Linked DNA regions of Homo sapiens: region 1 is linked to region 2. The links are contacts of gene promoters, found by promoter capture Hi-C in human tissues and cell types (Jung and others, 2019). All regions are on one chromosome and are shown on one strand. Each heading gives the region's core, a stretch centred on a gene start or on the middle of the fragment in contact. The rest is flanking DNA. Distances are from core to core; before and after follow the strand shown. Region 1 overlaps KATNBL1 (katanin regulatory subunit B1 like 1). Region 2 holds the start of LPCAT4 (lysophosphatidylcholine acyltransferase 4).

What was found. The method cuts DNA at HindIII sites, captures the fragments that hold promoters and counts their contacts. A contact is called where the count stands out against the background at its distance.
Region 1: a fragment that was not itself captured here is called in contact with the fragment with the promoter of LPCAT4 in region 2 in 1 of the 25 tissues and cell types used here (dorsolateral prefrontal cortex).

What each region holds. Positions count from the first base shown.
Region 1 is chr15:34,165,223-34,171,176 of GRCh38, forward strand. All of the region lies in intron 1 of KATNBL1 (katanin regulatory subunit B1 like 1), which reads right to left. Among named protein-coding and RNA genes, the nearest start is that of KATNBL1, 42 kb to the right of the region's middle. The HindIII fragment of the contact is 5,274 bases long and covers 1,798-5,954 here.
Region 2 is chr15:34,365,946-34,372,242 of GRCh38, forward strand. It overlaps LPCAT4 (lysophosphatidylcholine acyltransferase 4), which reads right to left and starts at 1,251. Exons shown (of 14, transcript NM_153613.3): 1 at 1,042-1,251. The coding sequence starts at 1,155. RefSeq lists silencers at 656-745, 826-875, 996-1,455, 1,586-1,635 and enhancers at 1,411-2,406, 2,006-2,295, 3,751-3,810. The HindIII fragment of the contact is 28,025 bases long and covers 1-6,297 here.

The DNA of each region.
Region 1 (5,954 bases), core at 3,185-5,684, 200 kb before region 2:
CTTGTGGCTGGAGCTTACATTGGGGGCGACTTAAATGAGGCTAGAGATAGAAGTTAGATCACAAAGGGTCTTGTCCACAATGCTACAATGTGAGATTTTTTTTTTCAAAAAAGGGGACTTTTAGTTTAAAAGAATGGATTGAACACATGCAATTACCTCTACCCTTCCTTGAAACCTGATTAAATGACAATAAAAGGTTTGTAAAGACATAAAACCCATGAGGACAAAGACAGGAGAAGTTCAGGTGATGGCAATAACATTTTGGAAAATGCAAAGCTAAAAGTGGTAACTTGATCAGGTGTGGTGGCTCATGCCTGTAATCCCAGCAAGTTCGGAGGCTGAGGCAGGCGGATCACCTGAGGTCAGGAGTTCAAGACTAGCCTGTCAAACATGGTGAAACCCTGTCTCTACAAAAATACAAACATTAGCAGGGCGTGGTGGTGGGACCTGTAATCCCAGCTACCTGGGAGGTGAGGCAGGAGAATCGCTTGAACCCGGGAGGCTGAGGTTGCAGTGAGCCAAGATCATGCCACTGCACTCCAGCCTGGGTGACAGAGCAAGACTCTGTCTCGAAAAAATAATAATTAGTAATAAATAAATAAATAAAAGTGGTAACTGACTCAGCAGATGTGAGAAAGCCAGATCCTAAATTGGCAATGAGGAAAGCAAAATGCAGAATCCCCTAAACGTTCAGGAACTGGCAATACCAAGGACATCAAGAAGTAGAGATGGCAAGTCCATTCCAAGATGGCCATTATAATAGGAACAGCTCCGGTCTGCAGCTCCCAGGGTGATCAACACAGAAGACGGGTGATTTCTGCATTTCCAACTGAGGTACCTGGTTCATCTCACTGGGACTGGCTGGACAGTGGATGCAGCCTACAGAGGGCGAGCTGAAGCAGGGCAGGGTGTCACCTCACCCGGGAAGCGCTAGGGGTCAGGAGATTTCCCTTTCCTAGCCAAGGGAATACATGACAGACTCTACCTGGAAAAACGGGACACTCTAGCCCAGATACTGCACTTTTCCAATGGTCTTAGCAAATGGCAGACCAGGAGATTCTATCCTATGCCTGGCTCGGCAGGTCCCACGCCCACGGAGCCTTGCTTACTGCCAGCGCAGCAGTCTGAGATAGACCTGCGAAGCAGCAGCCTGGCAGGGGGAGGGGCGTCCGCCACTGCTGAGGCTTGAGTAGGTAAACAAAGTGGCTGGGGGAAGCTCGAACTGGGCAGAGCCCACTGCAGCTCTGCAAGGCTTGCTGCCTCTAACACTCCACCTCTGGGGTCAGGGCATAGCTGAACAAAAGGCAGCAGAAACTTCTGCAGACTTAAACTTCCCAGTCTGATAGCTCTGAAGAGAGCAGTGGTTCTCCCAACACGACGTTTGAGCTCTGAGAATGGACAGACTGCCTCCTCAAGTGGGTCCTTGACCCCTGTGTAGCCTAACTGGGAGACACCTCCTAGTAGAGGCCGACTGACACCTCATACAGGTGGGTTCCCCTCTGGAATGAAGCTTCCAGAGGAAGGATCAGGCAGCAATATTTGCTGTTCTGCAGCCTCTGCTGGTGATACCCAGGCAAACAGGGTGTGGAGTGGACCTCCAGTAAACTCCAACAGACCTGCAGCTGAGGGGCCTGTCTATTAGAAGGAAAACTAACAAACAGAAAGGAATAGCATCAACATCAACAAAAAGGACATCCACACCAAAACCCCATCCGTAAGTCACCAACATCAAACACCAAAGGTAGATAAAACCACAAAGATGGGGAGAAACCAGAGCAGAAAGGCTGAAAATTCAAAAAATCAGAACACCTCTTCTCCACCAAAGGAACACAACTCCTCACCAGCAAGAGAACAAAACTGGATGGAGAATGAGTTTGACAGGTTGACAGAATTAGGCTTCAGAAGGTCGGTAATAACAAACTTCTCCAAGCTAAAGGAGCATGTTCTCACTTGTTGCAAGGAAGCCAAAAACCTTGAAAAAAGGTTAGACAAATGGTTAACTAGAATAACCAGTGTAGAGAAGAACTTAAATGACATCATGGAGCTGAAAATCACAGTACGAGAACTTCATAAAGCATACACAAGCTTTAATAGCTGATTTGATCAAGTGGAAGAAAGGATATAAGTGAATGAAGATCAAATTAATGAAATACAGCAAGAAGACAAGATTAGAGAAAAAAGAGTGAAAAGAAACGAACAAAGCCTCCAAGAAACATGGGACTATGTGAAAAGACCAAATCTATGTTTGATTGTGTACCTGAAAGTGACGGGGAGAATGCAACCAGTCAGAAAACACTCTTCAGGGTATTATTCAGTAGAACTTCCCCAACCTAGCAAGGCAGGCCAACGTTCAAATTCAGGAAATACAGAGAACACCACAAAGATACTCCTCAAGAAGAGCAACCCCAAGACACTTAATTGTCAGACTCACTAAGGTTGAAATGAAGGGAAAAATGTTAAGGGCAGCCAGAGAGAAAGGTCAGGTTACCCACAAAGGGAAGACTAACAGCGCATTTCTCGGCAGAAACCCTACAAGCCAGAAGAGAGTGGGGGCCAATATTCAACATTCTGAAAGAAAAGAATTTTCAACCCAGAATTTCATATCCAGCCAAACTAAGCTTCATAAGTGAAGGAGAAATAAAATCCTTTACAGACAAGCAAATACCAAGAGATTTTGTCACCACCAAGCCTGCCTTACAAGAGCTCCTGAAGGAAGCACTAAACATGGTTACGAACAACCAGTACCAGCCACTGCAAAAATATGCCAAATTGTAAAGACCATCGATGCTATGAAGAAACTGCATCAATTAACAGGTGAAATAACTAGCTAGCATCATAATGACAGGATCAAATTCATACATAACAGCATTAACCTTAAATGTAAATGGGCTAAATGCCCCAATTAAAAGATACAGACTGGCAAATTGGATAAAGAGTCAAGACCTATCGGTGTGCTGTATTCAGGAGACCCATCTCACGTGCAAAGATACACACAGGTTCAAAATAAAGGGATGGAGGAAGATCTTCCAAGTAAATGGAAAGCAAAAAAAAAGCAGGGTTTGCAGTCCTGGTCTCTTATAAACAGACTTTAAGCCAACAAAGATCAAAAGAGACAAAGAAGACCATTATATAATGGTAAAGGAATCAATTCAACAAGAAGAGCTAACTATCTTAAATATATATGCACCCAATACAGGACCACCCAGATTCATAAAGCAAGTCCTTGGAGACCTACAAAGAGACTTAGACTCCCACACAATAACAATGGGAAACTTCAACACTCCACTGTCAATATTAGACAGATCAGTGAGACAGAAGGTTAACAAGGATGCCCAGGATTTGAACTCAGCTCTGCACCAAGCTGACCTAACAGACATCTACAGAACTCTTCACCCCAAATCAACAGAATATACATTCTTCTCAGCACCACATCGCACTTATTCCAAAATTGACCACATAGTTGGAAGTAAAGCACTCCTCAGGAAATGTAAAAGAACAGAAATCACAGCAAACTGCCTCTCAGACCACAGTGCAATCAAATTAGACCTCAGGATTAAGAAACTCACTCAAAACCATACAACTACTTGGAAACTGAACAACCTGCTCCTGAATGACTACTGGGTAAATAATGAAAGAAGGCAGAAATAAAGATGTTTTTTGAAACCAATGAGAACAAAGACACAACGAACCAGAATCTCTGGGACACATTTAAAGCAGTGTGTAGCCGGAAATTTATGGCATTAAATGCCCCCAAGAGAAAGCAGGAAAGATCTACAATCGACATGCTAAAATCACAATCAAAAGAACTAGAGAAGCAAGAGCAAACAAATTCAAAAGGTAGCAGAAGGCAAGAAATAACTAAGATCAGAGCAGAACTGAAGGAGATAGAGACACAAAAACCCTTCAAAAAAAATCAATGAATCCAGGAGCTGGTTTTTTGAAAAGATCAGCAAAATTGATAGACTGCTAGCAAGACTAATAAAGAAGAAAACAGAGAAGAATCAAATAGATGCAATAAAAATTGATAAAGGGGATATCACCACTGATGCCCCAGAAATACAAACTGCCATCAGAGAATACTATAAACACCTCTATGTAAATAAACTAGAAAATCTAGAAGAAATGGATAAATTCCTGGATACGTACACCCTCCCAAGACTAAACCAGGAAGAAGTTCAATTGCTGAATAGACCAATAACAGGCTCTGAAATTGAGGCAATAATTAATAGCCTACCAACCAAAAAAAGTCCAGGACCAAACAGATTCACAGCCGAATTCTACCAGAAGCACAAAGAGGAGCTGGTACCATTCCTTCTGAAACTATTCCATCAATAGAAAAAGAGGGAATCCTCCCTAACTCATTTTATGAGGCCAGCATCATCCTGATACCAAAGCCTGGCAGAGACACAACAAAAAAAGAGAATTTTAGACCAATATCCCTGATGAACACTGATGCGAAAATCTTCAATAAAATACTGGCAAACCGAATCCAGCAGCACATCAAAACCTTATCCACCACGATCAAGTCGGCTTCATCCCTGGGATGCAAGGCTGGTTCAACAGATGCAAATCAGTAAACGTAATCCATCGCATAAACAGAACCAACAACAAAAACCACATGATTATCTCAATAGATGCAGAAAAGGCCTTTGACAACATTCAACAGCCCTTCATGCTAAAAACTCTCAATAAACTAGGTACTGAAGAATCATATCTCAAAATAATAAGAGCTATTTATGACAATCCCACAGCCAATCTCATACTGAATGGGCAAAAACTGGAAGCATTCCCTTTGAAAACTGGCACAAGACACGGATGCCCTCTCTCACCACTCCTATTCAACACAGTGTTGGAAGTTCTGGCCAGGGCAATCAGGCAAGAGAAAGAAATAAAGGGTATTCAATTAGGAAAAGAGGAAGTCAAATTGTCCCTGTTTGCAGATGACATGATTGTATATTTAGAAAACCCCATCATCTCAGCCCAAAATCTCCTTAAGCTGATAGGCAACTTCAGCAAAGTCTCAGGACACAAAATCAATGTGCAAAAATCAAAAGCATTCCTATATACCAATAACAGACAAACAGAGCCAAATCATGAGTGAACTCCCATTCACAATTGCTACAAAGAGAATAAAATACCTAGGAATCCAACTTACAAGGGATGTGAAGGACCTCTTCAAGGAGAACTACAAACCACTGCTCAATGAAATGAAAGAGGACACAAACAAATGGAAGAACATTCCATGCTCATGGATAGGAAGAATCAATATCGTGAAAATGGCCATACTGCCCAAGGTAATTTATAGATTCAACGTCATCCCCATCAAGCTACCAATGACTTTCTTGGAAGAATTGGAAAAAACTACTTTAAAGTTCATATGGAACCAAAAAAGAGCCTGCATTGCCAAGACAATCCTAAGCAAAAAGAACAAAGCTGGAGGCATCATGCTACCTGACTTCAAACTATACTACAAGGCTACAGTAACGAAAACAGCATGGTACTGGTACCAAAACAGATATATAGACCAATGGAACAGAACAGAGACCTCAGAAATAACACCACACATCTACAACCATCTGATCTTTGACAAACCTGACAACAAGCAATGGGGAAAGGATTCCCTATTTCATAAACGGTGCTGGGAAAACTGGCTAGCCATATGTAGAAAGCTGAAACTGGATCCCTTCCTTACACCTTATACAACAATTAATTCAAGATGGATTAAAGACTTAAATCTTAGATGCCAAATCATAAAAACCCTAGAAGAAAACCTAGACAATACCATTCAGGACACAGACATCGGCAAGGACTTCATGACTAAAACACCAAAAGCAATGGCAACAAAAGCCAAAATAGACAAATGGGATCTAATTAAACTAAAGAGCTTCTGCACAGCAAAAGAAACTACCATCAGAGTGAACAGGCAGCCTATAGAACGGGAGAAAATTTTTGCA
Region 2 (6,297 bases), core at 1-2,500:
TTTATAAAACCGAAAGCCATAAAAAGCATCTAGCACTTAGAGGATTTAATAAGAATGCATGCGAAAGTGCAGGGCGCTGTGCTTGATGTACAGTAGGTTAGAGACAGGTCCTCCTCCCCCACATCTTATTCCATAAATAGCTCCTATGCCCAACAGAAACCAGGTGCACAGATCTTTCCACTTTGGGCCTAGGAGGCAGAGGGCTGTAAACAGCCAGAGGTCCAGTTTTCAGACCCGAGGTCATTTTCTGACACTGCTCAACAGCAATCTTAGAGTACCGGGGGATATGGGAGACAAGAGCTCGGCCCCACTCTGCAAGGGAGAGAGGCTGCCAGGAGCCAGGATGACTCCATAGGCTGCCTTGGGGAAGAAGCAGGTAAGCAAACCTAGCCCCTGGAGCCTGCCTCCGGGGAGGTGATGACAGCAGAAACCTTGGACACTCCCTCCCCACACCACCTCCCAGCTCCCCTAGGCTGGCGCGGCCCTCCACTTCCTGTAGCCAACCTCCCTCTCAGCCTCCCTGCCCCCACCGGGAGGTGCTGCAGTGCGGGGTGGAGGGGGGTTGGAGGGAGTGGGAAGAGGGAGTGTAGGAAGGGCACAGGGTCGCAGGCTCCCGGCCCAGAAACGTCTTCCCTCTAAGTCATGCCTCGGAGGAATACTCGGCACGCCCCCGCCCCCGCCCCCACCCCCGGCTTCCCGTAGACTCTAACTCCATCCTAGCCATCAGGCTCTGCAGAATGTAATCCGCATTCCCCAGCGTCCTTCATCTCTCCAACCCCAGGGTCCCCTGCAGCCCTCCATCCCCACCTACTCAGTTTTTCCACATCTTCGAGCTTGTCTATCGCCCAAGCCCGCAGCGTCCTCTCCAGGACTCCTTGCCCAACCGCGGCCGCCCCCACGTGCGCACCCCCGGACTCCCGCTCCGCAAGCCTCTCAGCCATCTCCTTCTCGTGGATCCCCAAGCCCACCTTTGCCAGGGCTCAAATGGCCCCATTTTCCTATCCTCACGGGTCCTTCCGACGCCCGCTCCCCACACATTACCTTAACCCTCTGGAGGCGAGAGAGATGTAACTCATGCACGAAGGGGTTGGGGGATGCTGGGGGTCCGGGGGTGGGATCTAGGGGGGCCCAGTCCCCCGGACTTCCCTGGCTCATGGCGGGAGAAGGTGGGAGGGAGGGCACCCCGGCCCTGGCCCCGGCCACCACTCTGCAGAGCAGCTGCTGCTGCAGCAGCGGCGGCGGCGGCGCTCTGGCCCGGGCCCCGCCCGGTGCAGGCGGCCGAGGGGCGGGGAGCAGGCGGCGCAGCCCAGCCCGCCCGCGTTGTCAGGGCGCCGGCCGAGGGGCGGGGCTTCCAGCGCCCTGGCGCCCCTGCTCCTCCGCGCCCGCCGCGGCGCCCGCAGCCGCTCGGGCCATTGTTCCGCGGCTGCCAGGGCTGGAGCGGGCTGCCCCTGGGCTTCTGCGCCTCCGTCGTTCCTCTCTGAAGACCTGGCCTCCGCCTCGGAGTGGGAGTGGGTCTGGGAGCTGAGCGCAGAGCTCAGAGCGCCCTCTGTCCCCGCCCGGGCGTCGAGGTCACCCAGCAAGCGCAGATCGGGGTGAGGCTCTTGGGTTGGTAGGCAGGGAGGGACAGGTGGGCCGGATGCAGAGGCCGGCAGCTCGCGGGTGAGGCGGCGCCCCGCTCTTCCTATGGGCTCCTTGGCCCGGTCCGCGCCTCCTCGCAGGCGGACCACCTTTCCTTCCCGGTCCGTGGGGCGCCATCGCGCGGGGACTTGAGGCACTTGCGTCCTCTGGCGGCTGCATGGCGCCCCGCAACTCTCCACCTCCGCGTCCTGCCTGTGCTAGGCAGGGCCGCCTTTACTGGTGTGAGGGTTGCTTGAACCCTTGAGGCGCCAGGAATCCCTAGTACACTGACGCATGTGCTTCCCATGAGCCCGACAAGGTCTGGCAGGGGAGAGGCAGTGGTTCCTGATCTCTGTCACTCTCTGGGTGAACGCAGAGGACACAGTAGTAATTCCCCTCACCCACAAGCTCCAAGCTACCCTAGAAAACAAATTGTTTAGCCTCAGGCCATCGTTTGAGATCAGGGACCAGGGAATTAAGTGGACTCTGAGATCCATTGCCATGACAAAAGGGGTAAGAGTCTCATTGCTTGAGGAAAGAATACGCCTTAAGTTCACTTTATGTCTTCTGCCCATTGCATGGCAGTTAGGGGAGCTGAAGGAAGAAAGTGAAAGAAAAAGAGACCTCTCATAACCAAGAGTGTTTGCCGCCACTGGCTTCTCCTTTAAACCAAACTCCAAATTAATCTGCTCCAGGAAATTTTCTGAGCCCAGGCTGAGAGGGTTGAAGGCTCATGCATCCTACTGAGACCAAGGAGCTGCACTGGGATGTTTTTGTATATAACACAGAGGTCCCAACACAAATACATCATTTCCACATTTTATTTTTGTATAGATAGGGTCTCGCTATATTGCCCAGGCTGGTCTCGAACTCCTAGCCTCAAGTGAGCCTCCCACCTCGGCCTTCCAAACTGTTGGGACTACAGGTAGTGAGCCGCCATGTACAACCCAAACCTTTTTTTTTTAAGCAGATGATTTCAGCTTTCTCACCAGAACCGAGAAAGTACAACTGCATGTATTAGTCTCCCTTGCCTTGCCTTTGGGGAGAAGTTTGTGTGTGTGTGTGTGTGTGTGTGTGTGTGTGTGTGTGTGTGTGTGTTTGTCTTTTGTTGTTGTTGTTTTGGGACGGAGTCGCGCTCTTGCTCTGTTGCCCAGGCTGGAGTGCAATGGCGTGATCTCAGCTCGCTGCAACCTCCGTCTCCCGGCTCCAAGCAATTCTCCTGCCTCAGCCTCCTGAGTAGCTAGGATTATAGGCGGGCACCACCACACCCGGCTAATTTTTGTATTTTTAGTAGAGACGGGGTTTCATCATATTGGTTAGGCTGGTCTCGAACTCCTCACCTCATGATCCACTCGCCTCAGCCTCCCAAAGTGCTGGGATTACAGGCGTGAGCCACCGCACCTGGCGGTTTTTTTTTTTTCTTTTTGAGATGGAGTTTCACTTTTGTTGCACAGGCTGGAGTGCAATGGCACAATCTCGGTTCACTGTATCCTCCGCCTCCCGGGTCAAGCGATTCTCCTGCCTCAGCCACCTGAGCAGCTGGGATTACAGGTGCCTGCCACCATGCCTGGCTAATTTTTTTTTTTTTTTTTTTTGTATTTTTAGTAGAGATGGGGTTTCACCATGTTGGCCAGGCTGGTTTCGAACTCATGACCTCAGGTGATCCACTTGCCTCTGCCAAAGTGCTGGGATTACAGGCGTGAGCCACCACGCCCAGCCTAGAAGGAGGTTTAAGGACTAAGATAATGTTCATAAGGTGGGAGACAGGGAAAGATGAGAGTGTAGGGAAGTTTAAATTTTTCCCTTGAATGTTTGATAATTTGAGTCTATAAAACAAACTGATTACATAGATTAAAGGGAAAAGAGGCCTACGCATTTTTTTTTTTTTTTTTTTTTTTGAGACGGAGTCTCGCTCTGTCGCTCAGGCTGGAGTGCAGTGGCACGATCTCAGCTCACTGCAACCTCCACTTCCCGGGTCACGCGATTCTCCTGCCTCAGCCTCCTGAGTAGCTGGGACTGCAGGTGCACGTCGCCATGCCTGGCTAATTTTTTTTTTTTTTTTTTGGTATTTCTAGTAGAGACAGAGTTTCGCCATGTTAGGCAGGCTGGTCTTGAACTCCTGACCTCAGGTGATCCGCCCGCCTCGGCCTCCCAAAGTGCTGGGATTACAGGTGTGAGCCACTGGGTCCGGTCTCCTACAAATTTTATTTGATGCACGCATGTGTGTGGGAGTCATACAAAATATAAAAACTCAAAGAAATGCCCAATGGTTGCTTTTATACCACCTTGAGGTTACAGAAAGAATGAGAGCTTGCATCTGGGCAAAACAGGTTATGGTGGCAAGACAGGTTATGGGAGGGGGAGAAGAAGAGGCCTGGCCAGCAAAGACGGTCTTGGTGAACAAATGAAATCTCACAGACAGTAGCCTTTAGAAGGAATAGGTGGTAAAGGTTTCTGTTAGACCTTTTAAGATGTCAGACTCTCAGTTAATCTTTCCTAAATCTGGACAAGGGAGAGCACCAGAGAAAGCCTTTCTGCATCGATGCAGATTCTCTGCAGATGCAGATCTCCCCCACAAAAGACAGCTTTGCAGGCTTTCTGAACAGTCATCTCAAAATACATCAAATTCAGAATGAAAATTTTTGGTGCTCTTCAAGAGCAATAAATACTATGAAAACCCAACTACAGGGGTAGAGTTTTGATAATCAAATATTTGCCGGTGTCAGTCATCCAGGATGAACTAAGAAGTTCATTTCTATGAATGAGTCATGAAAGCATCCACATTTCCCCTTTTTCTAGCCCCTCACCAAACTATTATGATGGCCTTTCTGCAGGCAGTCTGAGAAGGGGCAACCCAGTTGTAAAGAATAACGTTGAGAAATTGATCATCTCTGGTAGCATCTGTCACTCCCTTGAAAATATCCACCAGGCTAGACAGGTTTCTCCTCCACCTGACCCCTGTATCTGTATCAGTCACCATTACCTGGGAGTACTGGAGACAATGACATATCAATGGAATTCTGGATTATTGGATACCATTAATCTTCTGTTGGAAGGGGGAACCAGACAGAAGCCAGAAGTTACTTCTGTCTAGACTCCCTCCCAACCTCCCATGTTTTATAGCCTCAAAGAAGGCAGTCAGCATTCTCAGCATTCTTTTCTTCTTTTTCTTCTTCTCTTCCTCCTTCACCTCCTCCTCCCCTTCTTCCTCCTCCTTTCCCTTCTCCTCCTCCCCTTCCCCCTCCCTCTTCTTCCTTCTTCCTTCTTTCTTCTCCTCCTCCTCTTCATCCCCTCCCTCCTCCTTTCCCCCTCCTCCTTTTCCTCCTCTTCTCCTCATCCTCCCTCTCCTCCCCTCCTCTCCTTCCTCACTTCCCTTCTCCTCCTCCCCCTCCCCCTCCCTCCTCTTCTTCCTTCTTCCGTCTTTTCTTCTTCTCCTCCTCCTCCTCTCCGTCCCCTCTCTCCTTTCTCTCCTCCTCCTTTTCCTCCTCTTCTCCTCCTCATCCTCCCTCTCCTCCCCTCCTCCTCTTCCTCCTCCTCATCCTCCCTCTCCTCCCCTCCTCCCCTCCTCCTCTTCCTCTTCTCCCCTTCCCTTCCTCCTCCTTCTCTTCCCCCACTTCCTACCTCTCCTACTCCTCTTCCCCCATCTCCTCTTCCTTCTCCTTCTCCCCCTCTCCTCCCCCTCCCATCTCCTTCTCCTCCCCCCACCTCCTTCTCCTCCTCCTTCTTCTTTTAAATAGAGGCAGGGTCTTGCTTTGTTCGTCTTAAACTCCTGGGCTCAAGCAATCATTCTGCCTCAGCCTCCCAAAGTGCTGGGATTACAGGTGTGAGCCACTACTGGTGGCCCGTCCTTTTTAAATTTTTAATTTTATTAATCTTATTTTCATTTCTTTTTAATAGAGATAGGGTCTCACTATGTTGACCAGACTGGTCTGGAACTCCTGGTCTCAAGCAGTCCTTCTGCCTCAGCCTCCCAAAGTGCTAGGATTACAGGTGTGAGCCACCACACTAGGACAAGATTTATTTCTGTTATGAACTGAATGTTTGTGTCTCTCTTCCCCCAGTTCATATGTTGAAGCCCTAGACCCCAATGTGATGGCTATTTGAAGGTGGAGTCTTTGGGAGATAATTGGGTCTAGATTAGATCATGAGGGTAGGACCCTTATGATGGGATTAGTGCCCTTAAAAGAAGAGAGAGAGGGAGAGGGAGAGAGGGAGAGAGGGAGGGAGGGAGAGAGAGAGAGAGAGAGAGAAAGAAAGAAAGAAAGAGATCTTTCTTTCCATGAGTACATATGGAGGAAACGACATGTGAGCACACAGTGAGAAGACAGCTGTCTACATATCAGAAAGTTGGCTCTCACCAGACAACGAATCTGCAGGCATCTTGATCTTGGACTTCCCAGCCCCTAGAACTGTGATAAATAAATTTCTGTTGTTTAAGCCACCCAGTTGATGGCATCTTATTACAGCAGCCTGAGAAGATTAAGACAATTTCTTAAAGGTTCTTAGAGACGATTCCATAGCTTTCTTTTATCTCTTATTTAAAGGAGGGCAGGTTTCTGTACATCTTGTGTTTTCCAAGATAGTTCCAATAATTTTATAATTTCATTTTTTTTCAATTAAGGCAATTCATACATGCATAGTTACACATAATTTTACTTTTATGACTTTAATATTGTATTT